2 separate regions of the Homo sapiens genome follow, and region 2 is linked to region 1. Evidence: promoter capture Hi-C in human tissues and cell types (Jung and others, 2019). All regions are on one chromosome and are shown on one strand. The core of a region is centred on a gene start or on the middle of the fragment in contact, and the rest is flanking DNA. Distances in the headings are between cores, read along the strand shown.

The links. The method cuts DNA at HindIII sites, captures the fragments that hold promoters and counts their contacts. A contact is called where the count stands out against the background at its distance.
Region 2: a contact is called between a fragment that was not itself captured here and the fragment with the promoter of TFF2 in region 1, in 9 of the 25 tissues and cell types used here (H1 embryonic stem cells, IMR-90 fibroblasts, adrenal gland and 6 more).

What each region holds. Positions count from the first base shown.
Region 1 is chr21:42,346,785-42,352,303 of GRCh38, forward strand. TFF2 (trefoil factor 2) reads right to left here and starts at 4,210. Exons shown (of 4, transcript NM_005423.5): 1 at 4,095-4,210; 2 at 3,097-3,246; 3 at 702-848. The coding sequence starts at 4,173. LOC105372815 (a long non-coding RNA gene) reads left to right here and starts at 5,509. Exons shown (of 3, transcript XR_937755.3): 1 at 5,509-5,519. The HindIII fragment of the contact is 10,226 bases long and covers 1-5,519 here.
Region 2 is chr21:42,420,717-42,425,983 of GRCh38, forward strand. The region is part of intron 7 of UBASH3A (ubiquitin associated and SH3 domain containing A); the gene reads left to right. Among named protein-coding and RNA genes, the nearest start is that of UBASH3A, 19 kb to the left of the region's middle. RefSeq lists an enhancer at 2,461-2,730. The HindIII fragment of the contact is 5,669 bases long and covers 1-4,416 here.

The DNA of each region.
Region 1 (5,519 bases), core at 2,960-5,459:
TAAAAAAAATCACTCGGAAAATCCTGAACATGAAATATTTCGCTCTTTGGAGTGCTTTGATATCCTAACAAAAGGAAAAGAAAAGGCATCCTTCAAGGGCCAGTAGCTCTTTCCCCATTTTCCTGGATCTGCTTGGTCTTTTTTTACCTCGCCACACTCCGAGTCAGGAACACACTATCACTAAGCGGGTGGGAGAAGTGGACCCGTTCACCTCTGCCGGCGGGACCCTCCCGGGACTGCCCGGAGCAGGACGTTGTGGATGAGGTTTGTCATTCGGGGTCATGTGGGGGAGAACGGGGAAGCCACGGGAGAAGGGGCCAGGTCTGCTTGAGTTGGGCCCTCTCTGGTACCCAGCACAGTGCAAGACACTCAGTAGCCTCCAAATGCAGATGGGCTTGCAATAAAACAGGCAACGCCTCTGAACGTTGCAACACCTGGGGAGGCAACAGGGATGAGCCGCTGTTTCTAGAGCCATCACAGATGACGCAGTGGCAATGCTGGAGGCTATAAACTTATTGAAAAGACGCTGTCTTTGCCAAGAACATTCTGGAATTGCCTTCAGAATCCCATAGGAGGCAGGGGCCCTGGCCTCGATGGCACTGAGGCTGCGAGGCAGCTCCCCTCCCTGCACCCCACCTCTACGGACGGAGGAGGAATCATGGTGTCCGGGAACCAGACAGAGAGTCCCACAGCGACGTTACCTTCCACAGACTTCGGGAAGAAGCACCAGGGCACTTCAAAGATGAAGTTGGAGAAGCAGCACTTCCGAGAGGCGCATTCCTCGGGGCTGATGCCCGGGTAGCCACAGTTTCTTCGGTCTGAGACCTCCATGACGCACTGATCCGACTCTGCCATGGGACAGGCACAGCACCGAGACCCAGTCAGGCCTGCTGTGCCCTGGAAAGCTCCACCCCTTCCTCCTCTGAGAGCAGCGCTGATTTGCAGCCTCCGTGGATCATGAGGTGCTGCCTGGGGCAGCATCCCCCGGGACGGCCTCCCCCGGGGACTGTGGAAGTGTCGGCCCCTGGGACCGCCTCCCCCGGGGACTGTGGAAGTGTCGGCCCCAGCGACGCTTGGCTGGCCTGTCCTCCGCGAAGGTGGGGCCCATGTGGGGTGGTCACAGTCAGAAGCTCTGGAGTCCCCCGCCTTGGGGAAATCATTTTGCCTCTCGGGACTCAGTGTTCTCAGTAAATGGGGTGGTCCCCCGGGCCAAGATGAGAAAAGGTTTGTGGGCACCTTGGTAAGATGGAAAGCGTTTGGACATGGTATTGATTCCCAAAGACACTGCCATTCAGTGGGCGCTCGTGAACAATCCACCATCTGCCTGGTTTCCCTGCGGGGCCCAGCAAGCCTCCCAGCAACAATCTTGGGGATGAATCCTCCTTCTCCAGAGGACGTGCCTGGTTCCACGCACACAGGTGCACGACACACACACAACCTTCCTTTGAGCACTCGTCGGCGTTACAACTTGGGTCCTGATCCCGTGCACTAACATAAAACTCACTCCCAAAGAACCCTAGAAGGCTTCACTTCCTTCCCTAACATTTGAGGGCTGTCAGCCCTTATGTTACTGCTGTCCTATTAAATACCTTCATTTCCCCATGGAAGCTTCTTCAGAAGTCACACTTCAAAAACTAGAGGAGACCTACTATATATATATATATTTTTTTCTCAACTAAAGTAAAACTGATGGCTCCACACACACATGTCTGTTGAAAGAACTAACAGTGTAGAAACAGGGTAGGTGGGAAATTTTCATCTCACTGTTGGCTGACCTGGGTTACCTCTAGACTAACAGTCCAGGCTGGCCCCAGGCTAACCAACCTGGGCTACCTCTAGACTAGCAGTCCAGACTAGTCCCAGACTAACCAATCTGGGCTACCTCTAGACTAACAGTCCAGGCTAGTCCCAGACTAACCAACCTGGGCTACCTCTAGACTAACAGTCCAGACTAGTCCCAGACTAACCAACCTAACCAACCTGGGCTACCTCTAGACTAACAGTCCAGGCTAGTACCAGACTAAACAACCTGGGCTACCTCTAGACTAGCAGTCCAGGCTAGTCTAAGACTAACCAACATGGGCTAGCCCCAGACTAACCAACCTGGGCTAGCCCTAGACTACCTCTAGACTAGCAGTCCTCTAGGCTACCTCTAGACTAGCAGTCCAGGCTAGTCCCAGACTAACCAACCTGGGCTAGCTCCAGACTAAACAACCTGGGCTAGCTCCAGACTAACAAACCTGGGCTAGCCCCAGACTAACCAACCTGGGCTACTAGCCTCAGACTAACCAACCTGGGCTAGCTCCAGACTAACCAACCTGGGCTAGCTCCGATTAACCAACCTGGGCTAGCCCTAGACTAACCAGCCTACGCTAGCCCTAGACTAACCAACCTGGGCTAGCTCCAGACTAACAAACCTAGGCTACTAGCCCCAGACTAACCAGCCTATGCTAGCCCTAGACTAACCAACTTGGGCTAGCTCCAGACTAACCAACCTAGGCTACTAGCCCCAGACTAATCAACCTGTGCTAGCTCCAAACTAACTAACCTGGGCTAGCCCTAGACTAACTAGCCTACACTAGCCCTAGACTAACCAACCTGGGCTAGCCCCAGACTAACCAACCTGGGCTACTAGCCCCAGACTAACCAACCTGGGCTAGCTCCAGACTAACCAACCTGGGCTAGCCCCAGACTAACCAGCCTACGCTAGCCCTAGACTAACCAACCTGGGCTAGCTCCAGGCTAACCAACCTGGGCTACTAGCCCCAGACTAACCAACCTGCGCTAGCTCCAAACTAACCAACCTGGGCTAGCCTTAGACTAACTAGCCTACACTAGCCCTAGACTAACCAACCTGGGCTAGCCCCAGACTAACCAACCTGGGCTAGCCCCAGACTAACCAACCTGGGCTAGCTCTAGACTAACCAACCTGGGCTAGCCCCAGACTAACCAACCGGGGCTAGCTCGAGACTAACCCACCCAGGCTAACCCTAGACTAGCAACTGGGCCTCCTCCGGCCCCTGCTCTGGGCTCCGCCTGTGAAGCTGGGTCCTGGGTTGCCAGCTGCTGGCCCAGGAAGATTCCCTGGAAGATTACCTTGCTTTGGGAGGGGGTGGAAACACCAGGGGACCCCAGTGACACTGGAGTCGAAACAGCATCCATTGTCAAAACACTGGTCACTGGTGATTCCAGGGAAGCCGCAGTTCGTCCTGTTATGGGGGCTCAGCCTGGAGCACTGGCAGGGGGCTGTGGAAAGACCCTCAGTCGGCCCCACCCTGGTACCCCAGACCACACTGCTCCTTCTCTCAGAGGTTCTAGGGGATGCCTCTACTGTCTTGTTGCCACATAGAGAAACACAAAGTCTTATCTTGCCCATATTTAAGCAATGCGGTTTCCTCCTGAGAAGCCGATAGGGCTTTGCTGAAATTGTTATATTAGTTTAAAAGGAAAAAAAAAAAAAAGCCAGGCATGGTGGCTCATACCTATAATCCCAGCACTTTAGGAAGCCGAGGCGGGCAGATTGCTTGAGCTCAGGAGTTCAAGACCATCCTGGGCAACATGTCGAAACCCCATCTCTACAAACAATACAAAAAAAAAAATTGGCCGGGCATGATGGTCCACAACTGTGGTTTCAGCTACTCAGGCGGCTGAGGTGGGAGGATCACTTGAGCCTGGGAGGCAGAGGTTGCAGTGAGCCAAGATCACACCACTGCACTCCTGCCTGGGCGGCAAAGCCAGATCCTGTCTCGGAAAAAAACAAAAACAAAACCCTCCTAGAGGAGGGTGAACAGATGGACCCAAGGCCAAGATCCAGGCGAGAGGTGAGTGCTCTGGGACTCCAAGGACCCTTGGTGGGAATGCCCTCCTGGCCCGACACGGGGCCCGCTGACACCTGCCGTCACTCAGCCTTTCCCTAGGAGGGAGGCCCTTCTTGGAGCCACCCTCCTGAGCAGTGGCAAATCCCATGTGAACAACACACATTGCCAGATGCCTTTATAGCCATTCCCCCTCTCAAGTTAATTTATGGTTGTGCTTTTTTTTTTTCTTTAAGAGAAATAAAGAAAGCACATAAAAAGACCCTCTCCTTCACTTACAGGGTTTCTCACTCCCCGCCAGGGCACATAGCCCCAGGACGAGGAGCGCTGCCAGGAGCTGGGCGTCTCGCCGTCCCATGTCTAGCTCAGCTGCACCCCAGGGTGGCTTGCAGAATGCATGGTGTCCACTGCCGGGTATGTTTTATAATCTCCCCTCTGTTTGTCCAACAAGCAGAGATAACCTTTCTTCTCTGCCCCGTGGCCCCAGCCCTTCCACCGTGGAGGCGAAGAGGAGGCAAGAGGCAGCTGTGCCCTGTGCAGGCGAGGCTTCCGGGCCAGGGTGACTCTCTCCCTGCTCGGTGATACCTCTTCCTGCCCTGGACAGAGAGTTGGGTCATGCCAGGCTGCCAGCGTGGAAAACCGGCCACGTGCAGGTCTGGGGCTGGGCACACACAGGGTCACACCCAGGAAGGGATAAGCTATGCATTTCTATTGATAGAGTGGGCAGGGACCACAGGAATTTAGAAAATATTAGGGCCAAGTTTACTGGGGAAAATGTACAGGCCAGCAGATAGCATGGAAAAGTCCCCTCCCTGAGGAAGGGAAGCATCTCAGAGGAGGTAAGAGACTGCTCCCAGGGCTGTGGTTAGAGCCTCCCCAACCGCAGCACGATGCCCTTTGTCCCATCTTCAGCAGGAGGGGCTGCTCTCCATGGAGATGAGGCTGACAGGGTCAGCGGAGTAGCCTGTGACAGGCAGGTTTTAATAAGTTCATTTTCAGCCAACCCCTGAAATGGGTTATTTTTGTTCCATGGGAATGCTCTACATCTTCTGAAAGATGGCACCTGGGACCCAGCCCATGGCCTTCCTGGGGTAGGATGTGCTGGAGAAGGATTCTGTGGACCTGACAGAGAAGACAGAAGCCAGAGAGTAGACACCCGGAAAGAAAGAGGGAAAAGTGTGGTGGGAAGGACAGAGGGGACCCGAAGTTCCCCACGCCAGGGAAATGACAGGGGGTTGCCAGTCTGTTTCTGATGGTTGAGCAGTCAGGGGCCCAGAGACGCAGGAAACCCAAAATCCTTGGTCCACCACGGGGCTGTCCTCAGGGTCTGGAGAGCAGGCCCCATACTCCAGGCCCCCATCCTCCAGGCCCTCGTCCCCCAGGCTCCATCCTCCAGGCCCCCATTCTCCAGGGCTCCATCCTCTAGGCCCCTGTCCTCCAGGCCCCCATCCTCTAGGCCCTCATCCTCCAGGCTCCATCCTCCAGGCTCCATCCTCCAGGTTTCATCCTTCAGGCCATCATCCTCCAGGCCCCCGTCCTCCAGGCCCCCATCCTCCAGGCCCCATCCTCCAGGCCCCCATCTTTCAGGCCCCTGTCCTCCAGGCTCTTGTCCTCCAGGCCCTCATCCTCCAGGCCCCTGCTCCTCCAGACCCTCATCCTCCAGACCCTCATCCTCCAGGCCCCCATCTTTCAGGCCCCTGTCCT
Region 2 (5,267 bases), core at 332-2,831, 71 kb after region 1:
AGTCACAGACACAGCTGCTATTGAAGTCTCTGAGTGTGAGGAAAGCCTAAGTTTTTAAAAAAAAATGCCTTCCAACTGCATAAGTCAGACCTGCTCAGAATAACCTTGCTTTTGATTAATTTAAGCTCAACTGATTAGGGGTTCTAGTCACATTTGTAAAATCTCCTTCCAGCAGCACCTAGACTAGCATTTGATGGGATAGCTAGGAAGGCTGTGTGTGATGCTTAGGATGGCTACTGCCTCCCTTCCATCCTCCAGCTCTCATGAGAATGCCTCTTGTAGCCCACCCTGATCAGACATGTGCTAAAAAGGAAGTCTAGGAACTGTCGTTCAGTCTGGCCAAGTTGCCACACCATAAAGCCATTGCAAAGTGTTAAGGTGGCTCTTGTGAGCTTTTTCACTCTCTTCTCCCAGGTTCCAGTTAGGAGAGTGGAGAGAGCAGGCAGAGGTCAGAGTACACATGGTGAAAAAAGAGAAAAGCTGCTCAGCCTCATGGGTGTGCCTGTTGGGGTGGAGCTCTTGCAGGTGTCAAGACTGATGGTTGGAACAACTGAATGATGAGAGTGGGAGGAGAAGGGCAGAAATACACAGAAAAACCCTATGTTGTGGTTCTGGGCTTCCTGGCACCTTCAGAGCTGTGTGGCTGGGGAAGAGAGCCTGGAAAAACACCATCGTGGCCATCCCTCTGTCTCCAGGCAGGAGGTCTTAAAACCATTTTATATTTCACTCATTTGTTTAATTCTCTCCTAAAATGCTCCACAGCTTCTCTAGGGTTCCCCTCACCACCCTGACAAATAAATAAATCATTAAGTTGAACACAGATGTATCAGCATCTACTCAATCTATAGATTTTCAGATCTGTGCTGGACATTTGCTGTGGACTTCTATTTCCAGCATCTATACATCCAGGGAATTATTTTCTGTACCCTTCCTAATGAGATTCATGCACATGGCAAAACTATGAAAATTGTGACGTTTTATTTGAGTAGTCATTAAAAGCTGCTTAAAAATTGTCAGAGGCTATATGGATAAGCCTCTGTGTGGATAAGACTAGCATTTTAAGTAAATTAAGAAAGAACGTATTTTGAAGAGCTGAAATAAATGATTGCATATTGGTCATTTTTATCCAAACCCCCAAAAAAGAAAAGAAAAGATGGTTTAATAGTACCTGATAGAAGCTCTTGGTGAAATGATTAGAATTTGCAAGAAATAGTAGTAAAAATAATGGAAGTATTGTCTGAAATATTTATAAAAGGAGATTTGGTGACTATGGCTGATTTCTTTAAGTATTATATTTCTTTTTGCTAATTATTCATACACTGAGATTTGTATAACAAGCCAGGGACAGTACCTATGTCCCTGGGCTCCCCCACTAAACATAATAGCCACTTGACATTCAAGGAGAGCAGATTCCAGCCAAAGCCCCACAGCTGTGCATACATGACATTCCATATCATCTTCTCTTGAGGCCATTTAACTTCTTACCCTAATGAATAAGAACTTAGGACCACAAAATGCAAATGTGGGATGAAAAATGCAGCCGTAGTCACACGTCTTTATTTATTGATGTGTTGACTCCTAATCCACTTAAATCTATTTTAAGGCAGCTTAAGAGATGTCCAATAGCTTTGCACACTAACATCACCCCCTGTGCCTGGCTCTGTGCCATGCATTTCCCTTACTAACTGATTTACTTCTCCAATACCCCCTGGATAGGCACTTTTATTGATCCATTTTATAGTTGATGAAACTGAGACACAAAGAGATCAACTCACTTGCCTGTGTTCACACAGCAAGTGAGCAGAGGAAGCCGGATTCCAGTCTTATACCTAATCCCACGCTTGGGCTTTCAACTATGACCTCAACTGCCTATAGAAGAGATCATTAAAATTTAAAAATAAGTCCATAAATTAAATTATGACACATCCATACAATAAAATATTTGCAGCTTTAAAATAATTAAAAGGGAGAATTTTATATATTGATTTGAAAAAATATGCAAGATTTATTGATAAATGAAAAAAATAAGTTGCAGAACGATGTGTATGGCATGATATACTTGTGGGGGAAGGGGAGAGAAACACATAACTGTCTGTAAATACATGTGCACAATATGTATTTCTATACATGTGTATGCCTAAAGGTTCCCTGGAAGGGAGAGTGTCTAGAAACTTCTAACCATGGTTACCGGTGGGTGTTGGGAGTGGGAGCCAGGAGAATGGAACAGAAATGGGAGGGAGTCTTTTCAAACACGACCATTTCATAATGTTTAAATGTATGAAGCATATAAATGCATTACTTACTCAAAACATAAATTAATCCATTTTAAATTTCAAGAAGAGAATGTAAGAAAGCTGGGTCAAAGGGAGAGTAAAGGTGGAAAAGCTAGACAAAGCCAGGGCTGAGGTTTGTCCATACCATGGCGTGCGCTGTGAGCTCCCAGCTCCGAGCTTTCCCACATCCAGTGAGAAAACAGACACACATTCAACCAACAGTCATGGCCATCCCAGATGCGTGCAGACCAGCGGTTCAGGAGAAACACAATTTGCTGACATAGACATGTCCGTGGGTCCAGGGGCCACATCAAAATCACAGGATGTGGGTGCCACAAGGGATTGTAGAGATAACCGAAGGCAGCTCCCCTGCTTGAGAGGTGAGAAGACTCGGGCCCAGGAGGCCAGGTGACGTTGTACAATCAAGGAAGCTCTTGCTTTCTTGCAAGCTCAGTTCACCACCTGATCCAATCAACAGTTTAAGGAATAGAGAGGAGATGCTGGCTATGCCCTAACTAACCATCTCAATTTCAGGAGGGTTGGGGCTCCCCTGTGGCCCCGCATCATTTAGCATGTCCTTCGCTCTCTGCCCGGGATGGGAGAGTTTCACAGTCACAGAGGAACCACAAAGACTCTGCAGAAGATGAGTCAGCGGCTATGATACTTTTCACTTCACAATTAATACATCAGACACCTGCCATCAACATAACCATTCCAGCTTTTATGCCTGACATTTCTGGGACTATTCTTTCCAGAGGAACTTTCTCTTGAGAATTAATCAGTATTAACAAAAATTGCAATGAAAGGAAAGAGAAATAAGCACTGGGCTAGGTGCTGTGGGTTGTCTGATTGGTCCTGCTTTGGAAGCACCCTCATTGTGGCTGGGGGAGCATCAAGACACCCTGACAAGCTGTGATCTGTGCTTATGGGCCAGTGAGGCAGATGACGGGAGCTGTTGGACTCCACTGTGCTGGCTAAATCTTTTCAAACTGCTGAAAATCCTTATTAAACATCTAAAGCTTTCAAAATCGGAAAATGATCCTTGAATGTCTCCACACATCACTGACATATTCATTAGTGGAAAATGGGGTCAGACAGCAATGTCCAGAGGCCAGCTGACCCACGGACTGACAGATAGCTGTGCAGATGTTGAATAATTACTTCCTACGAGCCCTGGTCAGGACTCACACTTGCACGATCCAAGCAGCAGAACCACTGGCATTAGAGTGCCTGGAAACAGACCTGCAGGCGCACCAGGAGGAATCCCCCTGCCCGCCACAGAGGGCACCTTTCCAGGTAAGAGTCTGCAGCTCTGATGAATAGTACTTGTCAATTAACACACCAGTCACCCATCACCACTATAATGACCCCAGCCTCAGCCTCCGTGCCAGACGGTGCAGGGATTCTTTGGACTTATCTACCGCAAAATCACACTGTAATGTTTGTCCATTGCTTTGAAGATCAGAGATGGCCTGGAGAGACTGGTGATGGAGGACCGTATTCACAAACCACAGCAGCTTCCAATCCTCTGTCCAGGAGAGCAGAGGGGAGCACCCCTGTGGGACAAACAACAGGGGGGCTTGAGTGTGAGGGCTCGGGAGAATAAGTGCCATCCCCCAGTCAAGATGAGGACTTTCCCAACACTGAAGACAGACACAGCAGATTACTTCAAAAACCTCAGAGCAAGTTTACAGCAAATATCTCAGACATAAGAAAGGTACAATTAAGGGCTAAATTGCATTCTGCCAACATTCATATGTGGAGGTCCTGACCCCTAACACCTCAGAATGTGAACTTATTTGGAGACAGGGTCTTTAAAGAGGTGACTAAGTTCAAATGAGGGCATTAGAGTGGGCCCTGATCCAATATGTCTGGTGTCCTTATAAGAAGAAATGAGGACACAGACACACACAGAGGGACAGCCTGTGAGGAAACGAGGAGAAGTACCTGTCTACAAGCCAAGGAGAGAGGCCTCAAGAGAGACCAGCCTCAATGGTGGCTTGACCTCAGACTCGCAGCCTCCAGGACTATGAGGGCATCTGTGGCTGTCGTTGAAGCCGCTCAGCTGTGGGACTTTGTTATGGCCGCCCCAGGAAATGAACACAGGGACGTAGTGATGCAACCCCCAGATGGCAGCTATGTCCTTTTAAGAACCAGGGAGAATTCAAACACATCTGTTTCATGGTGTAAGTTACTGTCAAGAGGCTCTCTTAAGTCAAAGAGAAAAATGGAAATGTGAAAATGCTAAGCTCTTTTCTTTCTCCTTCCGTCACCCATGTTCACAGCATAATCTTGATTGTATTTCATTTGAAAGACTAGCAAAATGCACTCCGTTTCTCTCTGTAAACCTCACAGATGTCATCAGTTGATAGCAAAGCCCTACTGTCTGCAGAGCGAGCCGCAGGGAGGCTGTGGGTGCCCTCGCCTTGCCCTCAGGAAGGGGAAACCAACCAATATTTCCTGTGCTAATGTGGGGCTATGAATTGTGCCTCACTGCTCTGAGCATGTTAATTTGAAGAGGAAACTGTCGATTGTTCCAATGAGACTATCTATATTCTTGGTCTACTTAGGATCAACTCAAGTGTGCATTTCCTATCTAATGGCATCTGACAGCTTGAGAAGATGCAAAGTAAATTGGCCTGGACCTGCCATAGTTTATAGATGGAGACAGGGCAGGTAATAGTGTGAGAAGATCATGTGTAACGCAGATGCTGAGATGCAGAAGAAAAGATGCCCTTCCTGGCTCTGGACGGGTCTCGGTGGAGGAGTGGGAGCTACTGCTGGTTTTATGAGAATGTGGGGACTTGAGACCTCTATGGGAGAAATGCAAACATTTGCAAATGGGCTGGATAAATAGAAACATGCCCTGTGCATGGCTGAGAACAGTAAACTGTGGTGGTGTGTCAGTTCCTCCCAGAGTGGATCAAAGGGGATGGTGTATTAGTCAGGGTTCCCCACAGACAGAGACAGAGACAAAGACAGAGAGACAGAGAG